Regions from separate parts of the Homo sapiens genome. Here all the other regions are linked to region 1. Evidence: promoter capture Hi-C in human tissues and cell types (Jung and others, 2019). All regions are on one chromosome and are shown on one strand. The core of a region is centred on a gene start or on the middle of the fragment in contact, and the rest is flanking DNA. Distances in the headings are between cores, read along the strand shown.

The links. The method cuts DNA at HindIII sites, captures the fragments that hold promoters and counts their contacts. A contact is called where the count stands out against the background at its distance.
Region 2: a fragment that was not itself captured here is called in contact with the fragment with the promoter of SDK1 in region 1 in 1 of the 25 tissues and cell types used here (dorsolateral prefrontal cortex).
Region 3: the fragment with the promoter of AP5Z1 here is called in contact with the fragment with the promoter of SDK1 in region 1 in 1 of the 25 tissues and cell types used here (dorsolateral prefrontal cortex).
Region 4: a fragment that was not itself captured here is called in contact with the fragment with the promoter of SDK1 in region 1 in 1 of the 25 tissues and cell types used here (dorsolateral prefrontal cortex).
Region 5: a fragment that was not itself captured here is called in contact with the fragment with the promoter of SDK1 in region 1 in 1 of the 25 tissues and cell types used here (dorsolateral prefrontal cortex).
Region 6: a fragment that was not itself captured here is called in contact with the fragment with the promoter of SDK1 in region 1 in 1 of the 25 tissues and cell types used here (dorsolateral prefrontal cortex).
Region 7: a contact is called between a fragment that was not itself captured here and the fragment with the promoter of SDK1 in region 1, in 1 of the 25 tissues and cell types used here (dorsolateral prefrontal cortex).

What each region holds. Positions count from the first base shown.
Region 1 is chr7:3,299,338-3,303,588 of GRCh38, forward strand. SDK1 (sidekick cell adhesion molecule 1) reads left to right here and starts at 1,915. Exons shown (of 45, transcript NM_152744.4): 1 at 1,915-2,547. The coding sequence starts at 2,250. It overlaps SDK1-AS1 (SDK1 antisense RNA 1), which reads right to left. Exons shown (of 3, transcript XR_001744897.3): 1 at 2,892-4,251. RefSeq lists enhancers at 482-994, 995-1,506, 2,216-2,716 and a silencer at 1,392-1,941. The HindIII fragment of the contact is 11,292 bases long and covers 1-4,251 here.
Region 2 is chr7:4,973,106-4,977,356 of GRCh38, forward strand. It overlaps the pseudogene RNF216P1. Among named protein-coding and RNA genes, the nearest start is that of MMD2, 16 kb to the left of the region's middle. RefSeq lists an enhancer at 808-1,406 and a silencer at 1,119-1,498. The HindIII fragment of the contact is 5,809 bases long and covers 1-4,251 here.
Region 3 is chr7:4,773,751-4,778,001 of GRCh38, forward strand. AP5Z1 (adaptor related protein complex 5 subunit zeta 1) reads left to right here and starts at 1,873. Exons shown (of 17, transcript NM_014855.3): 1 at 1,873-2,006. The coding sequence starts at 1,966. RefSeq lists enhancers at 615-1,291, 1,292-1,968, 1,342-1,391, 1,432-1,521, 1,952-2,021 and 2 more and a silencer at 1,702-1,831. The HindIII fragment of the contact is 20,755 bases long and covers 1-4,251 here.
Region 4 is chr7:4,744,244-4,748,494 of GRCh38, forward strand. The region is part of intron 2 of FOXK1 (forkhead box K1); the gene reads left to right. Among named protein-coding and RNA genes, the nearest start is that of AP5Z1, 29 kb to the right of the region's middle. RefSeq lists an enhancer at 210-259 and silencers at 950-1,049, 1,160-1,209. The HindIII fragment of the contact is 5,421 bases long and covers 1-3,961 here.
Region 5 is chr7:4,725,211-4,729,461 of GRCh38, forward strand. The region is part of intron 1 of FOXK1 (forkhead box K1); the gene reads left to right. It overlaps LOC124901581 (a long non-coding RNA gene), which reads left to right. Exons shown (of 2, transcript XR_007060199.1): 1 at 1-1,653; 2 at 2,447-4,251. Among named protein-coding and RNA genes, the nearest start is that of FOXK1, 45 kb to the left of the region's middle. RefSeq lists an enhancer at 57-396. The HindIII fragment of the contact is 6,895 bases long and covers 1-4,251 here.
Region 6 is chr7:4,611,700-4,615,950 of GRCh38, forward strand. No RefSeq gene overlaps it. Among named protein-coding and RNA genes, the nearest start is that of FOXK1, 68 kb to the right of the region's middle. The HindIII fragment of the contact is 7,496 bases long and covers 1-4,251 here.
Region 7 is chr7:4,462,405-4,466,655 of GRCh38, forward strand. The region is part of intron 1 of LOC124901579 (a long non-coding RNA gene); the gene reads left to right. Among named protein-coding and RNA genes, the nearest start is that of FOXK1, 220 kb to the right of the region's middle. The HindIII fragment of the contact is 4,829 bases long and covers 1-4,251 here.

The DNA.
Region 1 (4,251 bases), core at 665-3,164:
AACCTCCACCTCCCAGGTTCAAGCAATTCTCCTGCCTCAGCCTCCCGAGTAGCTTGGACTACAAGCGCACGCCACTACGCCTGGCTAATCATCTTCTTCTTCTGTCTTTCTTCTTCATTTTCTTCTTTCTTTTTTCTTTTCTTTTTTTTTTTTTTAACTGCAGACGAGGTTTCACCATGTTGGCCAGGCTGGTCTTGAACTGACCTCAAGTGATCCGCCCGCCTCGGCCTCCCAAAGTGCTGGGATTACAGGTGTGAGCTACCGCGCCCGGCCCACTTCTTTATGCCTCAGTTTCTCCATCTGTACCAGGGCCAGCACCTCTCACACAGCAGGTAGTGAAGCTGCTGCTGCTGCTGCCCTGGGCTGGCCTACAGTGAGTGCTCACTGCACAGGAGGTATTGCTTCCCCCCGCCCAGCAGGTTCTCATTATAATCTTGCAAGTTTGAAGAAACCCAGCCTTGCTACCAACAGAAGATAAAAACAGACATGCCTCTCTGCCTCCAGTCTCATCCCCATGTCCTTGGGGAGCTGTCCTCTTCCGGCTCGTCCCATCTATGCGCCCTCACTATATCCTCAGAACAGGGCACTCCGTGGCTCCTTTAACTTTTTTGCCCCTCCTAGCATGGTGTGGAAAGGGGGCAGATGGGAGGCCTCTTTCTGAAACCACCTCCTGTTCGGCGGCTGTACTTGGACCTCAGTTTCCCTGTTTTGTTCACGTGGTCATTGTTAAGTCTTAGGGGACGTGTACAGAGGCTAATATTGAGCCACCAATCAGTTATTTGACAAATACCATAGGCGCTCTGTGAGCAGGAGCTGGCTCCTATCCCAGACCCCAGCCCTGTGACCTGCTCTCCACTCGCCCGGGGTCTTTCTTGGCTGGGACAATAAACCTACTGCATCAGGTGATTCCTGGGGAGTCAGCCCCGTGCTGGGCTCACACCCAGCCCCTCTGCGTTCATCTCTTACATGATCTCATGCGACCATCATCACACGTCCCCAGGCTCCTCCCGGGCCAACTCCAGAGGCAGTGCGTGTCACCTCCAGCTCTCCTCCCACAAAAATGCTGGCCTTTCAGCCTCCAGTGCGCTTAGTTCACCCCATAAACTCTGCTAATGCTTACCACATGCTGAGCGTCGGCGCCCGTCCCCACCCCCAGCCCCACAGGCTCCCGGGTCCCGCCCTGGGAGACCCTCCCACTGGCCGACCCTGCCCCAAGACTCGCCCACTCCACGGTGGGAAACCTGCAATGTGTCCCTCCCTACCCCGCCCTCCTCCAGCGCCGGCCAAAAGTGACCTTGGACGCTTCTACAATGCCATATCCACTCCTCTGAACAGGAGGCGAGTTTGCACCCAGTGGTGCCTTTGGTTGCTAGAAATTAAAAACCCGATTGCGCGTGTTTGCAATTACGGTAACTTGGCGCGTCACCCCCAAGCACTGAGCTAGCTGGTGGTAGCCGGGCGCCTCTCGGGGCGCGCCCTATTCCGCCCTCGGCCCTGGGCTGCCGCACGATCTGCGCGTCCTGCTGCACCTGAGCCCTTCCCACTCGGGCGCCCGCACCGCTGCGGGGCCGGGCGAGGATGCACCACCCCCGCCCGCGAGCCCGCCACGGGAGCGCGTGCCGAATCGACGCCGCCTGCAGTCCCCACTACGGGTCCCTAGGGGGCGCAGCCGGCGCGGGAAGCCGCCCGAGCCAGGCGCCGCGGCCGGCACAAAATTGCAGGCGGGCGGGCGCCGCGACTTTGAAAACAAGCGAGGGCCTGGGGGGCGGGCCCTGGGAGCGGGCGCCGCCTCCCTCGGCCAATCAACGGCGGGCGGCGGGCGGCGGGCGCGGGCGGCGCGTGCGGCCGGGCTGTGAATGGGGAGCGGCGGCCGCGGCAGCTGAGGGCGAGCGCGACCGCGACGTGCGGGCGGGCGCACTTTCTTCTCAGCGCCGGGCGGGGGCGGCGGCGGCGGCGGCTCCTCCGCGCCCGGCGGACCCCTCGGAGCTAGCGCGGCGGGCTCGGGACTGCGTGAGCGCCGGACGCGAATTTCCCCCGTTGACAACTTCTTCTCGCCCGGCTCGTCCCCGGCCCGCGCCGCGCCCCTCACGCGGGGACCCAGGACGCCGCCCCTCAGCGCTGGGCGGCCGCTCACCTCGGGCCGGGGGGCGCCGCGCCTCCCGCGGAGTGGCCGCGCCCGCTCGGAGCCGTCCCGCCTGTCCTGCCCGCCCGTCCGTCCGGCGCGGCGCTCGGGGTGGCGGCTGCTCGGCATGGCCCGGGGCGCCCGGCCCTCGGCGGCCGGTGGCGGCGGCGGCGGCGCGGAGCCCCCTGAGCGCGCGGGCCCCGGGCGGCCGCGGGGATCCCCGCCCGGCCGCGCCCGCCCCTCGCTGGCGCCGCGCCCCGGCCCGGAGCCCTCGCGACCCCGGGCGGCGCCCGAGACCTCCGGCGGGGACACGGCGGGCGCGGGGCGGTGCGGCGGGCGGCGGGCGGCAAAGTTGGGGCCGGGCCGCCGCGGCTGGTGGGCGCTGCTGGCGCTGCAGCTGCACTTGCTCCGGGCGCTGGCGCAAGGTAGGTGCGCGCGGGGTCGCGGGCCGGGGGCGTCGCCTCGGGGCGCGGAGGCGCGAACTTGAGCAGCGAGAGTGTGTCCGGGGTCCCCCCGCTTCCCGGCCCGGGTCGGGATGCGCCTTGCTGGGGGCTCTAGGGAGCCCAGGGGCTCCTCCACGCCAGACTCGGAGGAGAGGGAAACGGAGCCCCGTAGAGCCTGCACCCCGTCTGCTACTTTGCGTTTTATTTTTTTTATACCGCAGTAGCACAAACAAAAATTTTTAAGTTGAGGACCCATTTCTCAGCTCCTTAAAAGGATGCCCGAGTCCCCTTCCCATTGCATGGATGAAAAAGGGGCTGGTCTGTACCTGAGTCTTCGCACCGCAGGGTCTGGTTTCCGGTGAGTGACATCCAGAAGACTTGGAAATATCAAGTGCCAGTCGCTGTGAAAAGCCTTTTCCAGCCCCTCCCCAGGGCCTCGTCCTCTCCCCAGCCCCCGCCTGCTCCTGACTCCCCCAAGTCCCAAAGCCCGACCCCAAGTGGGTGCTGCGCGGCCGGTGGAGCAAAACTTTCAGTGCCCACAGCTTTTGCACTTGGCTTTGTTTTTCTCCCTCTATTGGCTTCTGTTTAGAATACAGTGGTGAGCTCTGAAATAGGGAAAGAGGATCTGCTGAATGGAAATGACCTTTTGAAACGAGAGATGGGATCTCTTGTGAAACGAGCTTTCCTTCCCAAATCTGGGCTTCCCTCCACCCCCTCCCCGCCCCCGACAAAACCCGTAACGTACCCCTGCCAGCTAGCATCGTTTTCTTTTGAAGTTTGCTGGTCTTTAAACCAAAACACCCCCCTCAACCCAGAAATAACTATTTTAATACGTCCTTTGGTAACGTCTTTAAAACACATTAGTGAACTGGTTTTGCTGATGGTAGTTTTAGGAAAATTAACTTAGTTGTATTCCAAGATACAGCTAACGAACAATCATGGTAAGGAACTCGATATTCTGAGATTGGCGAAGATGAGAGCATTAAACTTAAATTAGCTGTGTTCTGTGTCCTGTGAAGATGATTTATGTGTAGTAACATGACTTAAATGTTGTAACATTTTAAAGGTCTGAGCTCAAAACTATCATCCAATAGCTTAACAACGAACTCATACTTTTTTTTATTGATGCTTATGTAACGTTATCTAAATTGTGCCCCTCCACCCCCCTCCAGCTTTCATAAATGCTCCCTCTTATGTTTTACTACATGAAAACAAATTGCCATATTTCTGGTTAATTTAACTCCTCCATTACTTGGAAAATTTTCATTTCACTTATTTGTGCTTTTTGCTTAATGACTTACTCTGGAAGAAAAGCATTTATTAAGTCATTTTGTACAGTGGGATCTGTAGATTGTTAGAGCAACCAGGTTCAAGTGAAGAAATCTAAATCACTTAGGATGACCTTTAAAATAATGTGTTTATTAAGTTTTCTTTTTTTAAACAGTGACTTGCATTTTGCACTAAGACCTGTACGTTCATACATTTGAAGATTGGTGCACAGACTGAAATGGTGGGGAAAAAATCTGCCAGTGGCTTTGTTTTGAAGTATATTACATAGATTTCAAGTTTTTATCAGTTGCACTTTGAAGGTTGTGTAAAGCATTGCATTTTAACAACTGAAATGTTAATGAAAATACATTTTAAAAATATATTAAGGCAACAACCGAACTTTGTTAGGAATATTTT
Region 2 (4,251 bases), core at 921-3,420, 1.7 Mb after region 1:
GAGCCTCTCAGTTCACATATGACCCCATTTCATCCTTGCAAGAACACCGGGCAATAGATAATATCTTAAAATTCCCATTTTACTAATAAAAAATTCCTAGCCAGACGTGGCAGTTCACACCTGCCATACCACCACTTTAGGAGGGCAAGACGGAAGGATAACTTGGACCCAGGAGTTCGAGATCAGCCTGGGCAACAAAGCGAGATTCTGTTTCTTTTTTTTTTTTTTTTTTTTGAGACAGGGCCTTGCTCTGTCGCGCAGGCTGGAGTGCAGTGGTGCGATCTCTGCTCACTGCAAGCTCCGCCTCCTGGGTTCACGTCATTCTCCTGCCTCAGCCTCCAGAGTAGCTGGGACTACAGGCATCCGCCACCACGCCCGGGTAATTTTTTTATTTTTGGTAGAGAAGGGGTTTCACCATGTTGGCCAGGCTGGTCTGGAACTCCTGACCTCAAGTGATCCACCCGCCTTGGCCTACCAAAGTGCTGGGATTACAGGCGTGAGCCACTGTGCCCAGCCGTGAGACCCACTTTTCTCTTAATTTCCCCAATTCCTAGAATAGTGCATGGCCCACAGGAAATCCGCAGAATATATTTGCAGAATGAATGAATGACTTGCCAAAGGAATTAGGGCAAATAAGTAGATATCGAGTAAACATCCACAACCACCTGCCCCATACCCTTTTCAGCTCTGGGGAGATGGTGGCTCCTGTGGGGTCGGGGATTGGGGGTCTCCGTTCCTTTCATCCTCCAGCCTCGTGGGGGAGTCAAGTCTCCGTAGGCGGAGAGCCCGGATGCAGGCGCGGCTAGGCTGCCCTCTCTATGGTGAGCCCCCCGGTCCCTCCTCCGCAGCACCCGGAGTGCCTCTATGGTTCTTCCTGTCGTTAGTCGGGAGGGGGCGCTGTACGCGCGCTGTACGCTTGCGCGAGGTGACGCCGGGGCAGGGCCGGAAGGAATGCAGCGGCTGCCACGGAGCTCGTAGCTGCAGCTTTGGAGGAGTAAGCGGCGTGGTAGCGAAGGTCGCCGAACCCGCCTGGCTAGCCGGCGAGTTGAGTGGCGAGTGAGTGTCGGCTGCGGGGCGCGCTCGAGCTTCTGGGCGGGTCTGTGAGGCGAGGCGGCCTCCCTGCGTGACGCCTCCGTTGAGCTGCGGGGGTGGGGGCGGGGGCGCGGGCCGTGAGCACCACAGAGCTGAGGGGCGCGGCCGAGGCCCGGGCGGGATCGGGCCGGGGAGCTGGGCTGGGCGTCTCCAAGCCCCCTGCGGTGGCGAGGCGGGAGCGACACCCTCCCGCCACTTCGCGAAGTTTCGCGAGCCGGCCCCTCGGGCCGCTTCCCTCCCTCGGGCCCGAGGCCGCCGCGGAGGCGGTGTCCGTGCACCCGAGCGCGGCCTGGAGGAGCGGCGGGAGGCGGCCCGTGCCTGTGAACCCCAGCCCAGGCGGGCGGCGTTTTTCCTCCTCTCCCCTCACATCTGGAGCGCGTGTTGTTCCGTGAAACTTGGCGACTGTCACCCGGCACTCGCGAGGGCGCCGCAAGTGCGTCAGACCTTTCTGCGGGGCGCTGGGGGCTGGCCCGGCTCGGGGGTCCGGGCGCTGGGCAGGGAGCGAGGCCGCTGTCCCCGCGTCGAGGTGGTTCTGCTCCCGGTGGAACGGGACCAGGGCTCTAAGACTTGGGCCACTTGCAGCCAACGTGGAGCGTGCGCGGCGTGCGGGTTACAGAAATTTCTGACAAATCCGCCAGGGCTCTGTGAATCCTTAAGGGCCTGGGTAGCAGTTGTCCTAGGTACTTTGATAGTGCAAAGAGAACGTTATTATTTTTTTTTTTTTCCTTTTTTTGAGACGGAGTCTCGCTCTGTCGCCCAGGCTGGAGTGCAGTGGCGCGATCCCGGCTCACTGCCAGCTCTGCCTCCCGGGTTCACACCCTTCTCCTGCCTCAGCCTCCCGAGTTGCTGGGACTACAGGCGCCCGCCACCACGCCCGGCTAATTTTTTGTATTTTTTAGTAGAGACGGGGTTTCACCGTGTTAACCAGGATGGTCTCGATCTCCTGACCTCGTGATCCATCCACCTCGGCCTCCCTAAGAGCTGGGATTACAGGTGTGAGCCACCGCGCCTGGCTGTATTTTTTAATTTAATATTTAAATATGTATTTAAAATTTGTGTATGAATTTACATAAATGGTATCACACTTTCATTTAACGTTAATTTAACTGTGTTGTATCATATGAATTTTATTTATTCCTTTATTGAAGTCCAGTAAGGCCATTTCCAATTGCTTTTATTGCATATTTGCTGTAATGACCACCATCCCTGTCCGTATATTCTATTATGCATATTTCTTGGAGAACACACAGAGGTTTCTTTAGCTAATATACCTGGAAGTGGAATTGCTAAGTCACAGGGAATGTACATTTGTAATTTAGGGCGTATTGCTGATTGCTATTCAGAATATCTTTTCCAAGTTACTATCCAAACCAGCAATGTATAAGATTTCCCATTTCTTACATACTTGCCTTTTTTGCCACCCCAGTGGTTTGAAACATAATTCCTTTTTTTTTTTTTTTTGTGACGGAGTCTCACTCTGTTGCCCAGGCTGGAGTGCAGTGCGGCGATCTTGGCTCACTGCAACTTCAGCCTCCCGGGTTCAAGCGATTCTCCTGCGGCAGTGTCCGGAGTGGCTGGGATTACAGGCGCGTGCCACCATGCCTGGCTAATTTTTGTATTTTTTAGTAGAGCTGGGGTTTCACCGTGTTGGTCAGGCTGGTGTCCAACTCCTGACCTTGTGACCTGCCCGCCTCGGCCTCCCAAAGTGCTGGGATTGTAGGCTTGAGCCACTGCGTCTGGCTGAAACATAATTCATTTTCTGATTTGCCTTTCCCTGATTATTAGTGAGGTTGAGCATCTTCTGTGTTTTCTTTTTTGTGAATTGCCTATTAATACCCTTAGCCCATTTCTTTGTTAGCATATTTGTATCAAGATGTCATTTCTCTGTCAGTACTTTGTCTCTTTAATATGTGTATTTTAAACATATGTTTTAATGTCATAGGTTTTGAGTTTGTGTGGTTTTTTTTTTTTTGACCCACCTCCTTGGATATGTTTTCTTAAGGAATGTTTTCAGCATAAGCTTCAGATGTCCCCCTGACCAGATACATGGCAAGAGTTTTGATACTCCCTCATTCTTACTGTTCCTCTTTGCTTCCTTTTCAGCTCTTTTGAAACAGATGGTCACCATGTTTAGATATTAGCAGTCCCGTATGTGCATGTCTGCATTTGAAAATGGAAGAGGGAAACAACAATGAAGAGGTAATTCACTTGAACAACTTTCACTGCCATCGGGGACAAGGTAAGTTGTTTGTTCTCACTTCATCCCTTTCCCTGTGGCTTTTTCCTTTTAGTATCACAGCTGTATCTTTTGAAATGAACCTATTTTGTACCATTTAGAATCCAGGGACATTTCATTTTTGACATAAAAAGACTAGTTAGACTAGAATTATATCAGATAATGATATTGCTGGCATGAATGAAGTGTAAGACTCATTCATTGCAACTGGATTAATAAGCTGTTAATTTACTGGCAAGACGCTGTTAATATGTAGTCATTGAGTCTTAAGAGACAGTGTCAGCATCAGTTTTTGAAGGCGTGGTGATTATAAAGGAGTGCTCCACTAGGCATTTATGATCTGAAATACTACAGGTGATGCTGAACCAGTCTTGTCCTCCCATGATGCCTAATTTCTTTTTTGCCAGAAGATTCTGGCTTAGCCTTGAGGGGAATTTTGGAACATGTATTTTTTTGTTCTGCAGTTTTGGTTTTTTTTCTTTCTTTTTTTGAGACGGAATTTCGCTCATTGCCCAGGCTGGAGTGCAATGGCGTAATCTCGGCTCACTGCACCCTCCACGTCCCGGGTTCAAGCGATTCTCCTGCCTCAGCCTCCCGAGCAGCTGGGATTATAGGCATGTGCCACTATGCCCTGCTAATGTTGTATTTTTAGTAGAGATGGGTTTTCTCCATGTTGGTCAGGCTGGTCTTGATCTCCTGACCTCAGGTGATCCGCCTGCCTCGGCCTCCCAAAGTGCTGGCATGAGCCACCCGCCTGGCCACATTTGTTAATTTTCATTACAAAAGGGATAAATATGGGCCAGACAAATGGCTCACACCTTTAATCCTCGCACTTTGGGAGGCTGAGGCAAGAGGATTGCCTGAATCCAGGAATTCAAGGCTGCAGTGAGCTATGTTAGGCTACTGCACTCAAGCGTGGGAGA
Region 3 (4,251 bases), core at 623-3,122, 1.5 Mb after region 1:
CGGTACGATTCCATTTGCATGAAGTATAAAAAGACGCAAAACTAATCTCTGGTGATAAGAGAGACTAGCAGTTACTTGTGGGGGAAGGGAGTGGGCGTTGACTGGGAGGGGGCCACAGCGGGGAACCTCTGGGGAGCTGGAAATGGTCTAGGTCTTGAACTCAAACCATGGCAGGAACATTTACACCACAGAAATTATCAAACACAAATCAACCCCCGGCTCCCCACCGTCGCCAATGGAGCCGAGGCTTAAGACATTTGCAAATTTACCACCGATTTCTAGAAATGTAAATAGTGGAGTTCATTTAAGATTTGTGCGCTTTGGTGTGGACGTTTTACCCTAGTAAACGTTAAACACTGGCAGTAGGCTTTCCATAGACTACCTGTCACCAGCTTTCCTTTGCCAGTCTTCAACCTGCGGCTCCAGGGGCACCCGCCGCACTCCACCGACTCCCATCCACCGCTCACCATCCACCGATTCCCATCTCTTCATTCTCTGCACCAGGTGCCCTCAGACATCACTGGGCGCCCTAGGGCATCTCAAAGCCATGTTTGGAACTCCTGCAGGAAGCCCTCCCTCCTCCTCCTCCTTCCTTCCATCCAGGGGTCTTCTCGGGGCTTATCCCTTCAAGGCCTAACCTTGACCCACCCTATCTACGCAACATTGATTCCCACCCCTACCCTATTCCCCAGAACCTTCAGCAGTGCCTAGCGCAGCTAGGACTCAATCATCGCTTGTCCACTTAATGAATGACTCTTGGCACAAATTTCCTCGTCCTTTTCTGCCCCAGACAGACACCCCACAAACATGAAGTTACCCTTGATTTTTCCACTTTCTTCCTCCTGCCTGCAAATTCCTCAATCACAGGTGGTGCAAATCCTACCTCTAAATGGTACTGAATCTGCCTACTTTCGGGGCAACCTCCCTTACCTGGACCACAACTGCACCAGCCTCCTTTCTCCCTCAGGAGCTTCCCAATCCATTATCTCCCCTGCGGCCAGAGATCAGTTTCCTCCTGGGGTGCATTTAAGCCATAGGAAGCAGATCGCTACCCTAGGCCCGTCCCTCCCCACCCCTTGGTCTGGACACCCTCTGGGCTCATCTTAGGCCGCAGTCGCCGAAGCCTTCCTCCTCCGGTTGGACCCCCAACCAGGTCAGGCTGTCATAGCGTTTATCATGACGCTGGCGTGTCGCCCTGTGTCCCTCGGCCGTCTGCAGGATGGCAAACTTATGGCCAGGGCCCAGCACATTTGGGCACCCAACACATCCGTTAGAATGAACAGAAACTTCCCCTCTCCGAGCCTGTGGCCTCATCTGTAAAACAGAGATCGCGAGATCCCATGAATACCGTGGGGATTGAATAAGGGATTTTTTCGTTTCAAGCAGCAGGAACAGCGCGGGATGGGTGCTCAATAAATGGGAGCTCAAAAAATCCCCAAAACTGCCCAGAGCCGCGGCTATTCCTTGCAAACTGCTGGACACTGCTGGGCTCAGCCCACAAGTGTCGGAGTTTGCATCAGATTTTCAGGTCGTACTTAGCAAAGGGACTCCCGCACGACAAAGCTGTTTACGAAACAGAAACCAGAACTGGGGCAGTGACACTTTGGGGCCAGCAATGCCCTCTCCCAAAGCCCCAGGCGCCCAATTTCCGCCGAAATGCTTTCCGGGGTCGAAGGGCGCCGGGGCTCCAGAGTGCCGAGGTTCCGGGGTCGCGCGATTCCGCAGCTCCCAGGCGCCGACCCGGACCCCCGGCCGCGGCACCTACGCCCCGCCCCAGTCGCTCCACGCCAAAGCCCATTGGTCGGCAACCTGTCCCTCCTGCTCATGTGATGCGGCACGTGACGCAGCCACGTAAGGCCGCTGCGCTCACGTGACGCGGTCCCGGAAGTTGACCGGGGTGCGGAGCTCCTGGGCTGCAGCTCCTGGAGTTTCCGAGGTTCGTGCGCGTCTGGTGGCGGCGGCGTGATGTTCTCGGCAGGAGCGGAGAGTTTGCTCCACCAGGCCAGGTACGGGGGAGCTGCGGCCCCGGCCCTCCTTCCTGCATCTCTCCCTAGGGGCACACGGGGGTGGGTCTCACAGGGCAGGGGCTTGGGCGCCAGCCTTGCAGGAACCCGACTGGACTCGCCCTCGAGACTTGGGGATCGGGTAAGGCAACACGGCGGCCAGGCTTGGGGTGAGGAGGTCGGGGAGGGTCATGGTGGGTCCCCGGAGGAGGTGACACTTGAGCAGAGTCTTGGTGAGTGAAAGCAAGTGGGGTGGGACCCAGTCGACAGTTTAGTCAAAGGCTTGGCGGTGAGAACTCCGCGTCTGGCAGGAAATCGGGCAGCCGGGAGATTTCAGTGCCTCACAGTCAAGAACGCAAAGTCACAGTGTCCGGAGGCCTGCTAAGGAATAAGGCTGTGTGCCAGGCTGGGGAGCTGGAGGCCATCCGAGGGCTTTGCGGAACCGTGGGAGGGTTTTGTGACTTAAAAAGATCTCTCTTGCGCGGATGTATTAGCTAGGCTGAGAAATCACCCTCCAGGCTGGTTTCAGGCTGTGTCTGGACTCCCAGTAACGAGTGAGTAGCTCCTTCCTCACCAACTAACCAGTCATGGGGGAAAACAGTGTAAGCCAGGACTGAACAGACTCACGGTCCACCAAACAGGCAAAGACTTCATACTACATGTTTAAAAGAAGAAAATGCTGACCGGGCGTGGTGGCTCACGCCTGTAATCCCACCACTTTGGGAGGCCAAGGCAGGCGGATCACCTGAGGTCAGGAGTTCGAGACCAGCGTGCCCAACATGAGGAAACCACGTCTCTACTGAAAATACAAAAAAAAAAAAAAAAAAAAAAATTAGCCGGGCGTGGTGGTGGGTGACTGTAATCCCAGCTACTCGGGAGGCTGAGGCAGGAGGATTGCTTGAACCTGTGAGGTGGAGGTTACAGTGAGCTGAGATGGCGCCACTGCACTCCAGGCTGGGGGACAGAGCGAAACTCCGTCTCAAAAGAAAAAAGAAAAAAAGTAAAGAAAATACAGCCAGCACTACAGCCCCTTGGTAAACGTAAACAAACTTGGTGAGGTGAGAGGCCGAAGCAGGAGAAGTGCATGAACCCAGGAGGCCGAGGGTGCAGTGAGCCAAGATCGCACCACTGGACTCCAGTCTGGGTGACAGAACGAGACTCCATGTCAAAACAAACAAGCAAACCTGGACTCAGAGCTAGACCAATTGGTGGGAAAGATTCGGGTGGTTGAAATTGCTGTGATTATAGTGAGTGAGGTCTTGAAGGCAGGTTAAGTTCTAAAGCCCGAACAGGACAAAAATCTCTGATCAAAATAACCCTTAAGAGTCCACTCATTAGGAAGAGGCTTGGTGAATATGCAGCACCATCTCCCAGCAGCTCAACATAGGCAACCTTCCCTTCAATCCTGGACAGATATGTCATTCATGTGAATGTGGGGACTATATGAAAATGAAAAATACTGGCATCTCAGCATGTAACATGTTAATCCCAAGGTCCTTGCCAAGAGACAAGGAAAAACACCCACTGAGAACTTCATTCCCAGTCACATTCTGCTCAAGGTCATAAACTTGTGACATGAAAAACAAAAGGAAGAGCCCTCTTTATTTATTTATTTATTTATTTATTTATTTATTTTTATTAGAGTCTCTTTTGAGACAGAGTCTCCCTCTGTCGCCCAGGCTGGAGTACAATGGCGCAATCTCAGTTCACTGCAACCTCCGCCTCCTGGGTTCAAGCAATTCTCCTGCCTCAGCCTCCCAAGTAGCTGGGATTACAGGCGCCCGCCACCACACCCGGCTGATTTTTTGTATCTTTAGTAGAGATGGGATTTCACCACATTGTCCAGGCTGGTCTCGAATTCCTGACCTCAGGTGATCCGCCTGACTCGGCCCCTCGAAGTGCCGGGATTACAGGTGTGAGCCACCATACCCGGCTGAGCCCTCACTATTTAAATACCTGTTTCTCTGCCTCCCTGGCTCGGGTGGGCAGCCGTTTTTGAGGATAGAGTGTGGTTGAATTTCCCTATGTAACATACATGAGTTCTGCAGTTGCCCTCTGTTAGGGTTTCAAGAAGGTTAATCTATTAGGGCTTACCAGTTTTCACAATATTCTTAAGCCTGTGATTTCTGATGATATTTTAAAATAAATGACTGTAGTTTGAGGGTTAAGGTTTGGAGCCGGCCAGGCGCAGTGACTGGCCCACGCCTGTAATCCGAACACTTCGGGAGGCCGAGTTAGGAGGATCGCT
Region 4 (4,251 bases), core at 1-2,500, 1.4 Mb after region 1:
AGGGAAAATACTGTTTATTTTTATTTTATCTTAGCTTCAGGGGGTACACGTGCATATTTGTGACATGGGTATATTACTGGTGGGGATTGCGCTTCTGGGGTTCCCGTTACCTAAAGGGTGAACCGCGTACCCCGTAGGTCATCTTTCACCCCTCGCCCTCTCCCGCCTCCCTGCTTAGGAGTCCCAGTTTCTCATTGTTTCGATCTTCCTGTTCCCGGGTACCCACTGTTCAGCCACTGCTTGTAAGCAAGAGCAGGCGCTGTGCGGTATTGTTTCTGAGTTGGTTCACTTGGGATAAGCGCCTCCAGCTCCATCGCGTTGCTGCCCAGGTCAAGATTTCATTCTTTTTTATAGCTGGGAGTAAAGAAATTGTGTACTGAGCACCTGAAGCTCTTGCAGCTGGAGCTGTTCTGAGAAGCTGGGTGGCGGCCTCCTGTGACTGCGAGTCCCCGTCAGGGGGTGCGAGCAGCTCCCTGGGCCTGCACCTGCCCTGCTCTTGCTGCGGGAGCCAGGAAGGTGGGGGGCCACCCCTTTCCCCTCCTTCCGCCCAGTCCTGTTCTTTGAAACCGCCCTGTGCAAAGACCGGATTCTTGTTGGGGAGAATTCTGTGCGGAGAAAGTAGTAAGTTAGGGACTGGCTGTCTGGCTTTTTGGCCTTCCATTGTTACAATAAAAGCCTCTCTGTTTACATCCGTTTATCTTAGCACCCTGGAATTCAATTGAGTGTTTAGAAACCTCAGAGGCCCTTGAGGTTTTCCCTGCCAAGATACTTTTCAGTTTGAGTTTCTGCTGTAGGGTGGAGCCGGCGTGTTTACAAACACTCCCTGCCCTTCCCTGCCACCTCCCCACTCTCCTCCTCTCTGGCTGCGCTCCCTAACAGATCGGGAGGTGGGAGCGGGGCCAGGCCAGAAGAGCTGGCTGCCTGCAAGGCTGTCCCCTCCCAGTGCCGCCCCGCCCCCGCGGTGCCTGCCTTCCTAATTTGGTGTGCATTCGCCTCGCCAGTCCTCATTGGCCGTGGAGTGGCTGGCTCGGTGTAGGCCGGGCTCGCCCAGGGCCCCTCATTCCCAGGAGTCGGGAGTGGCTTGGGAGCGGCTTTTTCCTGGGGGAGCCTCCCTGATCAGCTGCCCCTGCCCCCGCCCCCCGCGCCACCCTGCGTCCTTCCTTTCCGTTTCTCGCAGGCCCTCGCTCCTTTTCCCAGGGTGGGTGGGTATGGGTGTGGGTGTGTGGTTTTGTGTGTGTGTGTGTGTTTCTGATTTATTTTTTTCTGCCCTGAAGTACTCCACCCAGAAAATGAATGAACTCTCTTTGAAATAAATTCTGCTATCTTTAGCAGAAGTTTGACCTTTTCTTTCCTTTTTGCAAAGAAGGATTTTTACAGGCCAGGCGCCCGGTGGCTCAGGCCTGTAATCCCAGCACTTTGGGAGGCTGAGGCAGGCGGATCACCTGAGGTCAGGAGTTCGAGACCAGCCTGGTCAACATTGTGAAACCCCATCTCTACTGAAAATACAAAAATGAGCCAGGTGTGTAATCCAAGCTACTTGGGAGGCTGAGGCAGGAGAATTGCTTGAACCTAGGAGGCAGAGGTTGCAGTGAACCAAGATTGCACCACTCCAGACTGGGCGGCAGAGCGAGACTCCATCTCAAAAAAAAAAGTGTTTTTAGGAAGGAATTAAAGTATTTAATGAAAGAATTCAAGTAGTTAATCATTTTCTAGGTTCCATCAGACAGACACCAGTCTAAAAAGTGTTCCTTAGAGGTAGAGTTTTAAGAAAACTGCTGAAATTCAGTGAAAGGACATTGCACAGAGTGACTGTTTTTGCTCATGAGGGCAAGACTTCAAGAGCTGTTTCTCTTAAGGCTCTTCCTGATTTCTCCAACGTGGAGATCAAAAATGAAAGTAACTCGTACAATTCGGCGAAGGTCAGCAGTATGTAAATATACAGTAAAAATGCAGCAACTGACTTCAAAATCTTTCCCTTTTAATCATGATTTTTAAACAGTTCTGTCTTATTGCTAGATAACATTCAGTCCTAACTTGGTTTATGTTGTTTTGTAAAGTTAGAGGTCTTTTGAGTTTGGAGGTTATTGGATCTACGTTAGAAATACTCTCCTTTTTCTGACAACTTTGGTAGCTTCCTGCAGGGTGATTCATCTCTTTCAAAGTTTCTGGTTGGCTGGGTGTGGTGACGCACTTTGGGAAGCTGAGGCAGGAGGATTGCTTGAGGCCAGGAGTTCCAGACAAGCCTGGGCAGCATAGTGAGACCCCCATCTCTAAAAAAAAAAATTTTTTTGCTAATTAGCCAGGTGCAGTGGCTCATGTCTTTAGACCCAGCTACTCGGGAGGCTGAGGCAGGAGGATCGCTTGAGCCCAGCAGTTGGAGGCTGTGGCGAGCTATGATGTCACCACTGCACTCCAACCTGGGCAACAGAGCAAGACCCTGTCTCAAAAAATTAATAATTAAAAAACACAAGTTTGTGGCTGCAGCCTTCCGTGTGTTTTCAGCAGGGCTGCAGGAGGATTGTGGTGCGAATGTGTGAATCACCCCTAGCGGGAATCCTGCCTGGCTGATCTGGGCTGGCTGTGCCAGCATTTGCAAATCCAGTGAGGGTCCCTCTTCCCTTGTCTGCCTGTCCCTGTCCCTGTAGGCCTTGCTGCCCCTCCCCACCCCACCACACCCTCTTATGTCTTTTCCCAGCTGAGAACTCTGGGGAAGTAACTATTGTTTCCTCCACATGGGAAGGTTGGGACTTTCTGTCTTCCTTTTATTTTTCCCTCCTGCCTAGATCCCTTCGAGGGGCAACTTTGGCGCTAAAGTGTTGGGAGTTCGGAATGAAGCTTGGTAGGGAAGTCCTTGTGTTTGTCCGAATCTGTTGAAAGGACATCCCCACGCCCGCGTTTCCTGTAATCTCGGAGGGTCCTAGCGCCCGACTTCTCAGGTCAGCCTCGGGTGACAAGCGGCTTGTGTGGAGTAGGCCTGTTGCATGGCTTCTGTGCGGGCATGTTACGCACGAGGACAGCCCTTTCCGGGTTCCATGAGCCTCAGGGGAAGCAGGAGGCGCCTGCAGACACGGAGCTGACCCCGGAACCTGCCTAGCTGCGGGGCCGCCTCTCCGCTCAAGCACCCACTCAGCTCTGTGAGGTCTATGCCTAACATGAGAGCAGCTCCTGTTGAAGCCACCATGCTGGTTATTCTCACCAGGGCAAAGTGCACTTCAGAAACAAGTTAATTTTATTTTCTAAATTATTATTTTTAATGCTGGTTCCAATTTGGGTTTGGGGGGTTGATTTTGTTTTTGTTTGTTTGTTTTTTGGGACAGGGTCTCACTCTATTGCCCAGGCTGGAGTGCAGTGGCACAGTCACAGCTCACTGCAACCTCAACCTCCCGGGCTCAAGCGATCCTCCCACTGCAGCCTCCTGAGTAGCTAGGACTACAGGCACCCACCACCACACACACCCAGCTCATTTTTTATTTTCGTTGAGATGGTGTCTTGCCCAGGCTGGTCCTGAACTCCTGGCCTCAAGCAGTCTTCCCACCTTGACCTCCCAAAGTGCCAAGATTACAAGCCTGGGCCTGTTTTTGTTGTGGTTGTTGTTGCCTTTGTTGTTTTTGTTTTGTTTTGAAGCAGGGTCTTGTTCTGACACCCAGGCCGGAGTGCAGTGGTCCGGTCACGGCTCGCTGCAGCCTCGACCTCCGGGACTCAAGCGATCCTCCCACCTCAGCCGTGACTACAGGAGCAATCCACTAGTTAATTTTTAAAAATAGCTTCCCAGCATTTTACAATGTCGGATTTATCTTAAAGGAACACATTCTTTAAGATCATTCTAAGAAATTCGCCTCTGAAAATTTTCTTTCCCTATTTGTTTATTTTTCCTTTTTCAGATTACGAAGAGACTATCTATCTATCTATATGCATCTTACAAAATGCAAACATTTCAGAAAGTGAAAATTCCCCCACACAACGCTCCCCAGAGCTGAGCCCTTCTCTCTCACTTCTGTGTCTCTGAGTCGTATTCGTACGTGACTGTCTCTTGGTTTTTCCGTTTTAGATATTACACATGAGGTTCCTATATGGAAATTAAGGATTTAGCTTCCCCCCTCCCCATCCCAGTAAAGTTACATCATCATGTCTGGTTTACCTTGCATGAGCGTTTTCTGTATTAGAACTGTGTAGTGATTGTAGCGCTTAGCCATTTCCTTCCTTGTACTTTTGGCTTATTTCCGCCACACTCCCCCCGCTCTTGGGGTTAAT
Region 5 (4,251 bases), core at 1,161-3,660, 1.4 Mb after region 1:
GATCGGAGCTGCCTCTTGAGAATAGCAGTGCCCAGGCTTTGGCCCAGGTGGCCGGAACGCCCCTTGGAGCACCGACGCCATCGGCTCCGGGAAATGCAGCGAGCACAGAGCCCAGTCCCTTGGTCTGACCGGGGGCGCTGCTTTTGTTCAGAAAGCGGTGGGGGTGATGTCATCGGATTTTTTTTCACTGCTGTTGCCCAAAGTGAAACCGGGCTTAGTTGTTGTCTCAGGAGCCCAGCCAGCCAGGGGGACACGGCCTCCTGCCCACAGGCAGAGGCCCGGGGCCAGATGTCCGCTTTCTCTTTCGCTCCGCAGGAGTGAGAAGCAAGGACCTCACTGCCTTTGTGCGGCCGGGCCCCTCCGGCCAGTCTGCGTGAACGGACTCTCCGGGCCTCGCCCATGCTCCGGGCGTGTGGCTGTGTTGGGAGGACGGGAGCTCTACTGCTTGGCAGTGGACACACCAAGGCTGCCGACTGGCCCAGTGGGTGGCGATGCCACTTACATGTGATTTCTCAATCTCCGTCAACTGCCGTGGCTGCCCGGGCTGGGCTGCCCTGTAGGTTTCAGTTCTTCAGGGCAACAGGCTGGGATCCAGGCAAGGTGCCTGCACTCAGAGGGGTAGGGAGCCAGGGGCACATGTGCTGGGCGTGGGCTGGGGCTTCTGGCTGGCAGGGGTGTGGGTTTGGGCCTGGTGGGATTCCCCATATTAGGAAGGTGAGCTGAGCTCGGCTGCAGTGGCTGAAGCAAGGAAGTGATTTGTCAAGCCATTTAGACACTGTCCCTGTTTTCTTTCAACAAACAGAACTTTTTTTTTTTTTAAGCAGCGAAGACCTTTTGCTCTCTGTTGGGGTGTGATTGGGGTTTGCATTTGGGGGCTCTCTTGAGCTTTGCCGCTGTCTTCAAGGATGGTATCTAAAGGGAAAGTCTTAAAATAAATAACTTTGAATTTGGATAGGAATGTCTATGCAGTGAGGGACAGGAGGCTTCCGTGTGTTTCACTAGAACGTTCTTGTTTTTGGCCTACGAATGCTTTTACTTAGGAAGCACGAGACCTGTGCTGCAGACCGTCTGTTGGAGCTGGCCGCGGCAGGACGGCGATCACCTTCCTGGCAGGCCCCTCCTGGATTCTGCCCTCTGCTTCTGAAAGCGTTTCCTCCATCAGCTTTAGCAAAACTGGGCCTGGCAGATCATTTGAAGTCAGGAGTTCGAGACCAGCCTGACCAACATGATGAAACCCTGTCTCTACTAAAAATACAAAAAAGTTAGCCGGGCACAGTGGCACGTGCCTGTAGTCTCAGCTACTCAGGAGGCTGAGGCAGGAGAATCGCTTGAACCCGAGAGGTGGAGGTTGCAGTGAGCCAAGATTGTGACATTGCACTCCAGCCTGGACGACAGAGCGAGACTCCGTCTCAAAAAAAAAAAAACCGTGCCTGGGCCTTGGAGGTGCCTGAGTCCAGAAGACAGACAGCGGGAGCTCACTCCTGCCATGTCGCTCTTGTTTCTTCTCCCCTCTGCAGGGCGGCAGCTGCTTTGCCCTCAAGACTTCTCTTTTCGCCCACTCTATTCATAGGGGGAAATGACAACACAGGCGCTTTCCCTCAAACTCTGTGTATTCATACATCACCAGAGTGTTCAGAGAAGTGGGATATTTTGGTGAGTTAATTTACTTAATGTGCTTAGCACACAGTACCTGGTATATATAATAATAGCAGATATTAGTTGTCAACTACTAATTTTAATTTTTTTTTTTTACAAACGGGGTCTTGCTCTGTCACCCAGGTTGGAGTGCAGTGGCACAATCATAACCCATTGCAGCCTTGAATTCCTGGGCTCAAGTGATCCTCCTGCCTCAGTCTCCTGGAGTAGCTGGGACTACAGGCATGCACCACTATGCCAGGCTAATTTTTTTATTTTTATTTTTTGTAGAGACGGGGTCTCACTCTGTTGCCCAGGCTGGTTTTGCACTCCTGGCCTCAAGTGATCCTCCCACTTTGGCCTCTCAAAGTGTTGGGATTACAGGCGTGAGCCACTGCTCCCAGCCTATTATTATTATAGAATTTCATGTTAAGGTTTGCAGGTTATTCTTTTACTTTATTTTTAAATTTTATTTGTTTATTTTTTTGGCAAGGGCGTCTTACTCTGTTACCCAGCCTGGAGTGTGATGGTGTGATCTCAGCTCATTGCAACCTTCGCCTCCCGGGTTCAAGTGATTCTTGTGCCTCAGCCTCTGGAGTAGCTGGGATTACAGGCATGCAGCACCACGCCCAGCTAGTTTTTATATATTTAGTAGAGACCCGTTTCACCATGTTGGCCAGGCTGGTCTTGAACTCCTGACCTCAGGTGATCCTCCTGCCTTGGCCTCCCAAAGTACTGGGATTACAGGCTTAGCCACGGCGCCCGGCCTGATTTTGCAGGTTGTTCTAAAGTGCGGTGTTTCTCCTTTTAGGCTTCAGTGCTGAGGGCGGCCTGCTGTCCGTCCCTGCGGCAGACTGGGCCCTGTCCCACCTTCCCGTCACTCCTCGATGTCACATCAGAGTGCTCTCTCCTGGGTGGGAACCCGCGCACGGAGGAAACACTTTACCAGAGTAAACGAGATTATAACTTGTTTGCCAGAGAACCTCTCCTGTGGCCATGCCTGAACCTCTCCTGGGACTGTCCGTGGTCTTCACATTGGTGCTTGGACACCCGTCCTTCGGGAGGGGAGGAAAAGCGGCCGGTAAAATGGAGACAGTCGGTGGCGTGTGTTTGCCGATTGGACTGGCATTGGTATAGACAGATACCAATCACTGCACAGACATTTCCAGGGGCCCTTCCCCAGCCATGTTTAGTGGCACTGACCTCAGGCAGCTGGGCCCCCGGGACAGCAACCAGGGGACTGCCCTGGCCCTGGATGGCAGCCGGGACCGGCTCACAAGCTTCTGTTTGGAGCAGTTCTGTTGGCAGCCCCCCGCCTCCAGTGGAGATGTGACACGACTCTTTCTTGCCTGCCAAACGTTCTCTGATTCTTTGGATCATCGATCCTAACACAGCAAAGGCGGTATTGTTGCTGTCCTTTCAAGGTTAATCCAGGATCAGAAAAGTCTAATCATTTCTCTGTGGTTTTTGGAATTTCCAAAGAGCACCCAGATTTTAACCCTCAGTCCTCGGGGTTGTCCGGCTGCGGCTGTGCTGCTGTTGAGCATTAAGCTCATTCCACTTCACATGTAAACTTGTTTCTATGCATTCACCTCCTGGGAGACTCCACATTCCTGAGAGAACTGCATGGTTATGAACTCTTACTCGTGTGCACTAAAGTGCACGTGCTGTGTGTGTACTGACCCTCTGCCCTGTGGGAGCCACGTGCTGTGGGGAGAACAGACCAGCAGCAGATGGGACTCCTCCTCCAGGAACCTGCTACCAGCTAGGCGTGGTGGTGCAAGCCTATACTTCTGGCACTTTGGGAGGCTGTGGCAGGAGGATCACTTGAGGCCAGGAATTTGAGGCCAGCCTGGGCAACATAGTGAGACCACGTCTCTTTTTGAAAAAAAAAAAAAAAAAAAAAGAAAGAAAAGAAAACGTATTTTTCTTAAGTCGGGCATGAGAGTGAGCCAGGGAATTCAAGGAAGGCTGCCTAGATAGAGAAGGGGACCCTGGGGAACAGTCTTAGAGGACGCAAAGTCTATGCAGATAAACCAGCGTCTGGTACTTGGTATCAGTCAGGTGGCCAGTGAATAATGACTACGTGGAATTACTGTGGACAGCATTTTGAGATCTGCAGATTAAGCCATTTTGACTTCCCAGAAGCATTTTCTTAAATCAGCGTAGAGACAGAAGATGAAAGTTAACCTGAATTGCTCGTCGCAAGCAAGCTCTGCCCGGGTCAGCCCCAGAGGGTTGCAGAACACTGTGTCTGTGTCCGCTGTCTTAAAGAGCCTAGTCCATCTTTACGCGGTCTTTTTACGTCTGTTTAAGCCACACAGCATGGTGGGGAGCGGAGGTGATTTCGGAGCCTACTCTCCGATCCTCAGGATCCTCTTCGGGAGCAGCAGGCAGTGGCTTTCTCCTGGGCCAGGCAGGGTTGTCTGGGGAGTGGAACGTCTGCTAGAAATGCAGATCGCTGGGGCCACCGCCGTTTGGCCGTGTCAGTCATCTGGGGGTCCCTTAGCCTCCGCAGAGTAAAGCTGTGGGAGTCACCACGGGTCCCCATGTTGGGATTGGGAAGCAGTCACCTACCAGATGAGCGTTCCTTCCGCGAAGGGAAGGTGGGGGGAT
Region 6 (4,251 bases), core at 839-3,338, 1.3 Mb after region 1:
CAAAACATGTTCCAGACCATTCATAGGCACACTGTCTGCAATGGCCCACACTGCAATGAGCTCCACTGTCCATCAGTAACGGAAAGGGTAACTTGTGCTATATTCACATGGGAAATATATTCCGCTGTGCAAACGCACCAACTGCTACTATGCATAGTAATATATGAGGACAAATCTCATAAAAGTCACCTTAAGTCAGTGAAGAGAACATCCCATGTGATTTTGTTTCCATAAAGCGTAAACAGCAGGCAAAGCTAATCTCTGGTGTTTGATGTTGCGATAGCAGTTTCCCTTAGAGGTAAATGGGTAGTGGCTGAAAAGAGACACAAGGGGCCAGGCACAGGGGCTCACACCTGTAATCCCAGCACTTTGAGAGGTTGAGGCAAGTCAGGAGTTCGAGACCAGCCTGGCCAACGTGGCAAAACCCCGTCTCTACTAAAAATTAAAAAAAAAAAAAAATTAGCCGGGCATCGTAACACACGCCTGTAATCCCAGCTACGCAGGAGGCTGAGGCAAGAGAATCGCTTGAACCCAGGAAGTGGAGGCTGCAGTGAGCCAAGATCATACCACGGCACTCCAGACTGGGCAATAGAGTGAGACTCCATCTCAAAAAAAAAAAAATAGACACAAGGGAACGTGCTAAGGCAACTCCTGGTACCAGTACCACTTCTTGGCCTGTTAGGAACCGGGAGGTTCAGCAGGAAGTGAGCAGCGGGCAGGAAGGTGAAGTTTCATCTGTATTTACAGCCACTCCCCATCGCTCGCATTACCGCCTGAGCTCCGTCTCCTGTCAGATCAACTGCGCAAACCCTATTGTGAACCGCGCATGCGAGGGATCTAGGTTGTTTGCTCCTTATGAGAATCTAATGCCTGATGATCTGCCACTGTCTCTCATCGCCCCCAGACAGGACCCTCTAGTTGCAGGAAAACAGGCTCAGGGTTCCCACTGATTCTACATTATGAAAGTTGTAGAATTATTTCATTCTATGTTATAATGTAATAATAATAGAAATATAATGCACAATAAATGTAATCTGCTTGAATCATCTCAAAACCATCTCCCCGACCCGGGCCCACGGAGAAATTATCTTCCACGAAACTGGTCCCTGGTTCCAAAAAGCTTAGGGACTGCTGTTCTAAGGGGCTAGGGAGGTTCTGTTTCTTGACCTGAGCGGTAGGCACGTGGGTGAGTTCACTTTCATCCTTTCACAGTCCTGCTTTGCACGTTTTTCTGTCTACATGCTATACTCCAATACACATCTCAAAAGACAATTACATATGTGTGTGTTAGACAGAAAGAAGGAAGAGGGCAGGGAGAGAAAACCACCGCATTCAAGCATCGCCGCCTCTAGGTGTAAGGTTCATTCCAGGACTGCCTGGAGTTGGTGACTTTGCATTCCTGCAGAGGAAACCCACTTCCTTTGCCTGTGTTCTCGGGCCGACTTCCCATATCTGCTGACCAGAAATCCTTCCTTGCAGCCGCCCCTGTAACGGGGCTGGCATTTGCAATTCGAAAGTGTCTTTGGCCTTGTTTTTCCGAGGAAATGAAAACGCTATGCGTTATCAGCATATCATCCAACAATTTATCATCACGTTGGCACCTGACAATGTTGATTTATGATTCCAGCAGGAAGAGCAGCCCTCCAACCCCCCACCAGTTCAGAAATGGAGACATCGAGGAGTCCTGAGCACAGGCAGGAGAGACTATGAAGTTATCGTAGACTCGATGTCCACAAGTGCCGGTGAGAATGACTGTGCAGAGACCATCTGAGCTCCCTGCAGATCTCACGACTCTTTTCCTCCTCCCCTTGCTCCCGGGTGCTTTGTCTCTCACACTCGGCCCCTGTGGAGCTGTTCTGCCTATGCAAGCAGAAATTGAGAGGTGCCTGGGGTTCCTGTCCCCCCAGCCAGCTCTTAGCCAATGGCGAGCAGATTCCAGAAAGTGAAAGCCCCGCTCCCTTTGCCTGAGTCTGGACAGACCCTGGGGCATAACTTACGCTGCAGTGCCTTCCTGCAGGATTGGGCCAAAGCCACCCCAGGGGGATTTTGCCAAAGGACCTTACTCTGGCTTGGCTCCTGGGTCCCCTCCTCCTACTCCCTTCCAGACCTCCCGGGACCACGGCATTCCTACGTGGCTTGCACACAATTCCTTACCACAGAGTTTGCTTCTGGGGAACCTGACCTAAAACCGAGGGGAAAATGGATTCTAGCATTTTTCAGATTCAGAAACGGGAGACCCAAATGGCCCGGGCCTCCCGCCTCCCGCACACAGGCCTGTGTATCAAGTTTCTGCAAGCACAAGCAAGAGGCTTGCAACGTGTTTGCAAGCAGTCATCATCATTTCCAGGATTGGCTATGACTCGGGTTGCAATGTTTTATTTCAGTTCACAGACAGACACAGGCCACACTCCAGGGCTCATGCCCACATCCGTAGCTTGGAACTCGAGATGCACTGTCTAGGATGGCCAACATCAGGACGGCACCCACCAGCAGACAAGCCTGTTCCCAGAATAGCCTTCTTTTTTATTTTTTTGAGACAGGGTCTGGCTTTGTGGCCCAGGCTGGAGTGCAGTGGTGCAATCATAGCTCACTGCAGCCTTGACCTCCTGGGCTCAAGTGATCCTCCCACCTCAGCCCCCCAGCCCCAGTAGCTGGGACCACAGGCATGCACCACCACGCCTGGCTAATTTTTTTTTTTTTTTTTTTTTTTTTTTTTTTTTTGTAGAGACCAGGTTTCACCATGTTGCCCAGGCGGGTCTCAAACTCCTGGACTCACGTTATTCACCCGCCTCGGCTTCCTGAAGTTCTGGCATTACAGACATGAGCCACTACACCCAACCAGAAAAACCTTCTTAACCCATGTGTTTCTGAACCTTGATTTTGTTTTATTTTAATTTTTTATTTTTGAGACAGAGTCTCACTCTGTCACCCAGGCTGGAGTATAGTGGCATGATCTTGTCTCACTATAACCTCCACCTCCCAGGTTCAAGTGATTCTCCTGCCTCGGGCTTCTGAGTGGCTGGGACTACAGGTGCCTGCCACCACACCCGGCTAATTTTTGCATTTTAGTAGAGACTACGTTTCACTGTGTTGGCCAGGATGGTCTCGAACTCCTGACCTCAGGTGATCCACTCGCCTCGGCCTCCCAAAGTGTTGGAATTACAGGCGTGAGCCACTGCGCCAGCCTGAACCTTGATTTTAAATAAACTAATCTAAGTTCCAGTGGTCTTCCCTTAGTTTGAAGCGGAAGATAGATTTTCTTCTCCTGGAATCAAGTCTGCTATGCAGTAGAGCAGGTGGAAGCTCTGGGAGCTCAAAGACCTGGGAAGGTCTGGGAGCTCAAAGACCTGGGAGCTCTGCCACTCACTAACCACGCGCCCTGGGATAGGCCACTGGCCCTCTCTGCCCTCCAAATGTCCCATCTGTGCAATGGACACAAGAACGCCAACCTCTCAGGACTAGAGTGAGAATTGTCCAATAATATTAGGCCAGGTATGGTGGCTCACAACTGTAATCCCAGCACTTTGGGAGGCCTAGGTGGGTGGATCATTTGAGGTCAGAAGTTTAAGACCAGCCTGGCCAGTATGGTGAGACCCCATGTCTACTGAAAATACAAAAATTAGCCAGATGTGGTGGCACTCACTTGTAGTCCCAGCTACTTGGGAGGCTGAAGCAGGAGAATCGCTTGAATCTGGGAGGCGGAGGTTGCAGTGAGCTGAAATTGGGCCACTGCACTGCAGCCTGGGTGACAGAGCGAGACTCTGTCTCAAAAATAATAAAAGTAATAATATTATTATTACTAAATGCAACTGGGCACGGTGGCTCACACCTGTCACCCCAACACTTGGTTGAGGGCTCCACCAGGAGGATCGCTTGAGGCCAGGAGTTCGAGAGCAGCCTAGGCAGCATAACAAGACCCTGTCTCTACAGAAAAAAAAAAAATTGTAATTAGCTGGGCATGGTGGCACATGCCTGTGGTGGCAACTAGTCAGGTGGCTGAGATGGAGGACCGCTTGAGCCCAGGAGGTGGAGGCTGCAGTAAGCTATAATCACACCACTGCACTCCAGCCTGGGCAACAGAATGAGACTTTGTCTCAAAAAAAAAAAAAAACAATAGAGATGCATTGCTTCACAGTTCCAGAGGCTAGACGCCTGAAACCAAGGTGTTGGCAGGGCCCTGCTCACCCTGACCCTGTAGGAGAGGACCTTCCTGGCCTTGGCGCGTGGCTGCATGACTCCAACCTCTGCCTC
Region 7 (4,251 bases), core at 1,150-3,649, 1.2 Mb after region 1:
AGTCTGGCCAACATAGTAAAACCCCATCTCTACTAAAAACAGGAGAAAAAAGTACCTGGACATAGTGGCGGGTGCCTGTAGTCCCAGCTACTCGGGAGGCTGAGGCAGGAGAATCACTTGAACCCGGGAGGAGGAGATTGCAGTGAGCCAAGATCACGCCATTGCACTCCAGCCTGGGCAACACGAGCGAAACTCCATCTCAAAAAAAAAAAAAAAGGAGCAAAATTCAAAGTTTTTAATTGAGTTGCACGTACATCAGGCTTTTCAAACCAACTTATCAACTTGAGAAAATAGCCTTTGACTTCAAGAGACAGACTCAAACTCATGACATGTTTCTTTTTTTTTTTTTTTCTCTGTTTTGAGACAGAGCCTCACTCTGTCACCCAGGCTGGAGGGCAGTGGTGCGCTCTCGGCTCACTGCAACCTCTGCCTCCTGGGTTCAAGCGATTCTCCTGCCTCAGCCTCCCAAGTAGCTGGGACTACAAGCACCCGCCACCACGCTCAGCTAATTTTTGTATTTTTAGTAGAGACAGGGTTTCTCCACATTGGCCAGGCTGGTCTCAAACTCCTGACCTCAGGTGATCCACCCTCCTTGGCCTCCCACAGTGCTGGGATTACAGGCATGAGCCACAATGCCCGACCTCATGACATGTTTCAATTGAGACATGACTATCTACTCAAAATAATTTTTTTTTAGAGAAGACATTTAAAACGGAAACTTTGGAAGTCAGTTTACCCACATGGATCAAATGCTTTCTAGAAATACCACACACTTAACCTAAAAATTTCACTCATAGGAGCTTGTCCTAAGACCAGAAGGGGACCATTGGATGCAGATGAATGTATGAGGATGTTAACAGCATTGCTTTTTATAATAGAGAAAACTCAGAAAATAACCTAGATGACTATTGGTAGGAGATTGATGAAACAAATAATGGCATACCTATGCAGGGGAATACTTTACAGCCATTAAAATTATGCTACAGATCAATAATTATTAACATGGAAGATAGCCATTGCCAAAAACAACATTGCTTTTAAAAAGAAACGTGTGTACAAAAATATGCTTACCTTAAAAAATGTTTGAAAATTATTCATCACAGTGTTAACAGTGCCTGTCTGAATGTTAGGATTATTGGCAATCCATTTTTTCTTTGTGCTTTTGTATATTTTGTAAGTTACTTGAAAGAAACACACATTATAATAATGTATAAAAATTAAAAGTTATTAAAAGTCCATTGATAAAATTCTTTCAACATTTAAATGAATAATTGATCTATGTATGGCTTGTGTTTACTCTAAGTTATAAATTCTCAAAGAATAGGGAGCATTTTTTCTTCTTATATTCTCTCCCCAGCTCCATACGCAACACTGCGTGTAATAACTCTGTAATGGCTGTTGATTGACTGGGTATTTAGACGTCAAGCATTGAGGAGATATTAGCAAAAATAGCTAAGAACTAAATTGCATGGCTGGGCCTTTGGCACTAGAATGTTAATAATTGAAAACTAAAACCTTCAAGTCATTTGTTTTTATTATAAATGAACCCACCTCTCACAACTCCCCTTCGGTTTTGAAATCCTGCCAAAGTGTTTCTTCTGATCCCATCCTTTGGCTAATGTGAAAGTTTTAAAAGCTTCTTAATGACATCATTATCCTGCAAATCATCATGAAGGAGACAAAAATGAATCAGGTTTTTGGTAAAGCCGTGCATGGATCTGTGATTTCTGATATGGGAGCAGAGATTGTCTAGGCAACTTTGAGAAGGTAATAAAGTCTTATTTGGCAATCTCAACTTTCTCACCAGCATCTTTGACCTCTGTGTCAGTCAGCTATTGCTGTGTAACAAACAGATCAAAAAGAATTCGGTGGTAAAGAAAAATAGCATGTGTTTTTTGAACTAAACTGGGCTCATCTGGGAGTCTTTGCTTCTTCAAGCTACGAGTCTGGTCGGCCCCACCCCTTCCACCTCTATGATTTGGATCTCAGTCTGCACCATGTGTACTCATTATGGGGTCCATGTTCAAGGGCCAGAAGCTATTCAGGGGAAGCTCTTCTCATGTAAATAACGGAAGGGCAAGAGTGCCTGTCCAACTGTGCAAGCATACAGCAAATCTCTGCTTGTGTCATCTGTGCTCACATCCTTTTGGCCAAAGCCAATGCCCCACATCAGTACAGCAGGAAAATAGATTCTGCCTCCGTAAGACTACACAGCAAGCATGCATGTTAGACAAACAAGAATTCAATTTACCACACCCTGCATTTCAGCAAATCTCATTCACCACTTCTCCTACTGAGCCATTCAGTGTCTTCATGCAGTCCCTGGCTTCTTCACACGGAGGTATTGTGAATGGAATGAAAGGAAATGAAATTTGTATTATTAGAAAGAGTATCATGTGGGAACATTACTGAACCCCAGGAAATGAACTGTAGGATTTCAGACAAGACAGCCCTCCAAGACACTTCTACATAATCATCTATGCTGCCCAAGGGAAAAGCCAGTCTGGCCTGAAGTGGTAAACTGCACCTTCCTTTTTTTCTTTCTTTTTTTGTTTTTTGTTTGTTTGTTTGTTTTTTGTTTCAGATGGAGTCTCGCTCTGTCACCCAGGCTGGAGTGCAGTGGTGCAATCTCGGCTCACTGCAACCTCCGCCTCCTGGGTTCAAGCAATTCTCCTGCCTCCCGAGTCTGGGATTACAGACACCCACCACCATGCTCAGCTAATTTTTTTTGTATTTTTAGTAGAGATGGGTTTCACCATGTTGGCCAGGCTGGTCTTGAACTCCTGACCTCAGGTGATCCAACTGCCTCAGCCTCCCAAAGTGCTGGGATTGTAGGTGTGAGCCACCACGCCCAGCCTACACATTCCTTTTGAGCAAATAAAGGCTGATGTGATGTTTTGTTGGCCCAGTTCTTTTTTCCTTTGAAGATTCTTCGGAGAGGAAAAACTCTTCCCCAGCAGAGGTGGGTGCAGGGTCTGGTAGATTGAATTCTTGTTTGTCTAGCATGCATGCTTGCTGTGTAGTCTTACAGAGGCAGAATCTACTTTCCTGCTGTGCTGATGTTGGGTATTGGCTTTGGCCAAAAGGATGTCCAGCATAAATGACACAAGCAGAGATTGGCTGTATGCTTGCATAGTTTTCATCTCTCTTAGTCATCTTGTAGCCAGAACGGAAAAGAGCACAGGGCAGAGGCACAGAGAGAATTGTGCCAGGCACACAAGGAGAGTGCTTACAAGCTGAGGGAAGAATAGAGTCCACTTTGCCTCGATTTGAGAAGATACACGGTGATTGCCGCCACAGCGTGGGGCAGGCAGGAGGTCACCTCCACCGGCTGTTGTAATTGGCACCATCTGAGGAAGAGCATTTAGATTTCCTTCAAATTGCTGAGTGGGAACAGCATTTACGCTAATGACTCCTTGCTTTAAATCTCTAGGGAAAGCGTATGAAATTTTCCTTTATAGAGTTGTAAATGAGGCTGTGTTTTGTGGGGGACAGTGGTGAGGTATGCGGATAAATGGGTACCCTATTAGGAATGTTGAAAGGAGGCAAGTTGTGGGTTAAAGAGGACTTCTGCAGGGTTAGCAACTAACAGAGGCTTTTAGCTTTTTCTCTCCAAATCTAGAAGCTCATTGGCAATTTTCGTGTCTATTGTGTTCTGAATGAGAACGGGCATCCGTAGCTCTCAGGGGCTTGAACATGGCTGAGATGAGAGGAACACAGAGCAGTCTCATCACTAACACAAGGCAGTCCATGGTGAGACCTAGAGATGAGTACCAAAAAAGAGGGAGGCTTGAAAATAGGATGGTTGGGCCGGGTGCAATGGTTCACGCCTGTAATCCCAGCACTTTGGGAGGCCGAGGCAGGTGGATCACTTGAAGTCAGGAGTTCAAGACCAACTTGGCCAACATGGGGAAACCCCATCTCTATTAAAATACAAAAAAAAAATATATATATGCACGTGTAGTGATGCACACCTGTAATTCCAGCTATTCAGGAGGCTGAGCCAGGAGAATCACTTGAGTCTGGGAGGCGGAGGTTGCAGTGAGTCGAGATTACGCCACTGCACTCCCGCCTGGGCAACTGAGTGAGACTCCAGCTAAAAAAAAAAAAAAAAAAGAAAAAAAAAGAAAAAGAAAAGAAAGAAAAAGAAAAAGAAAAGAAAATAGGATGGTTGGAGGGAGGGGGGTCCTCAAGCATGGCTCTCAGACTGGCAGCTTCAGCATCACCCAGGAGCTTGTTAGAAATGCAAGT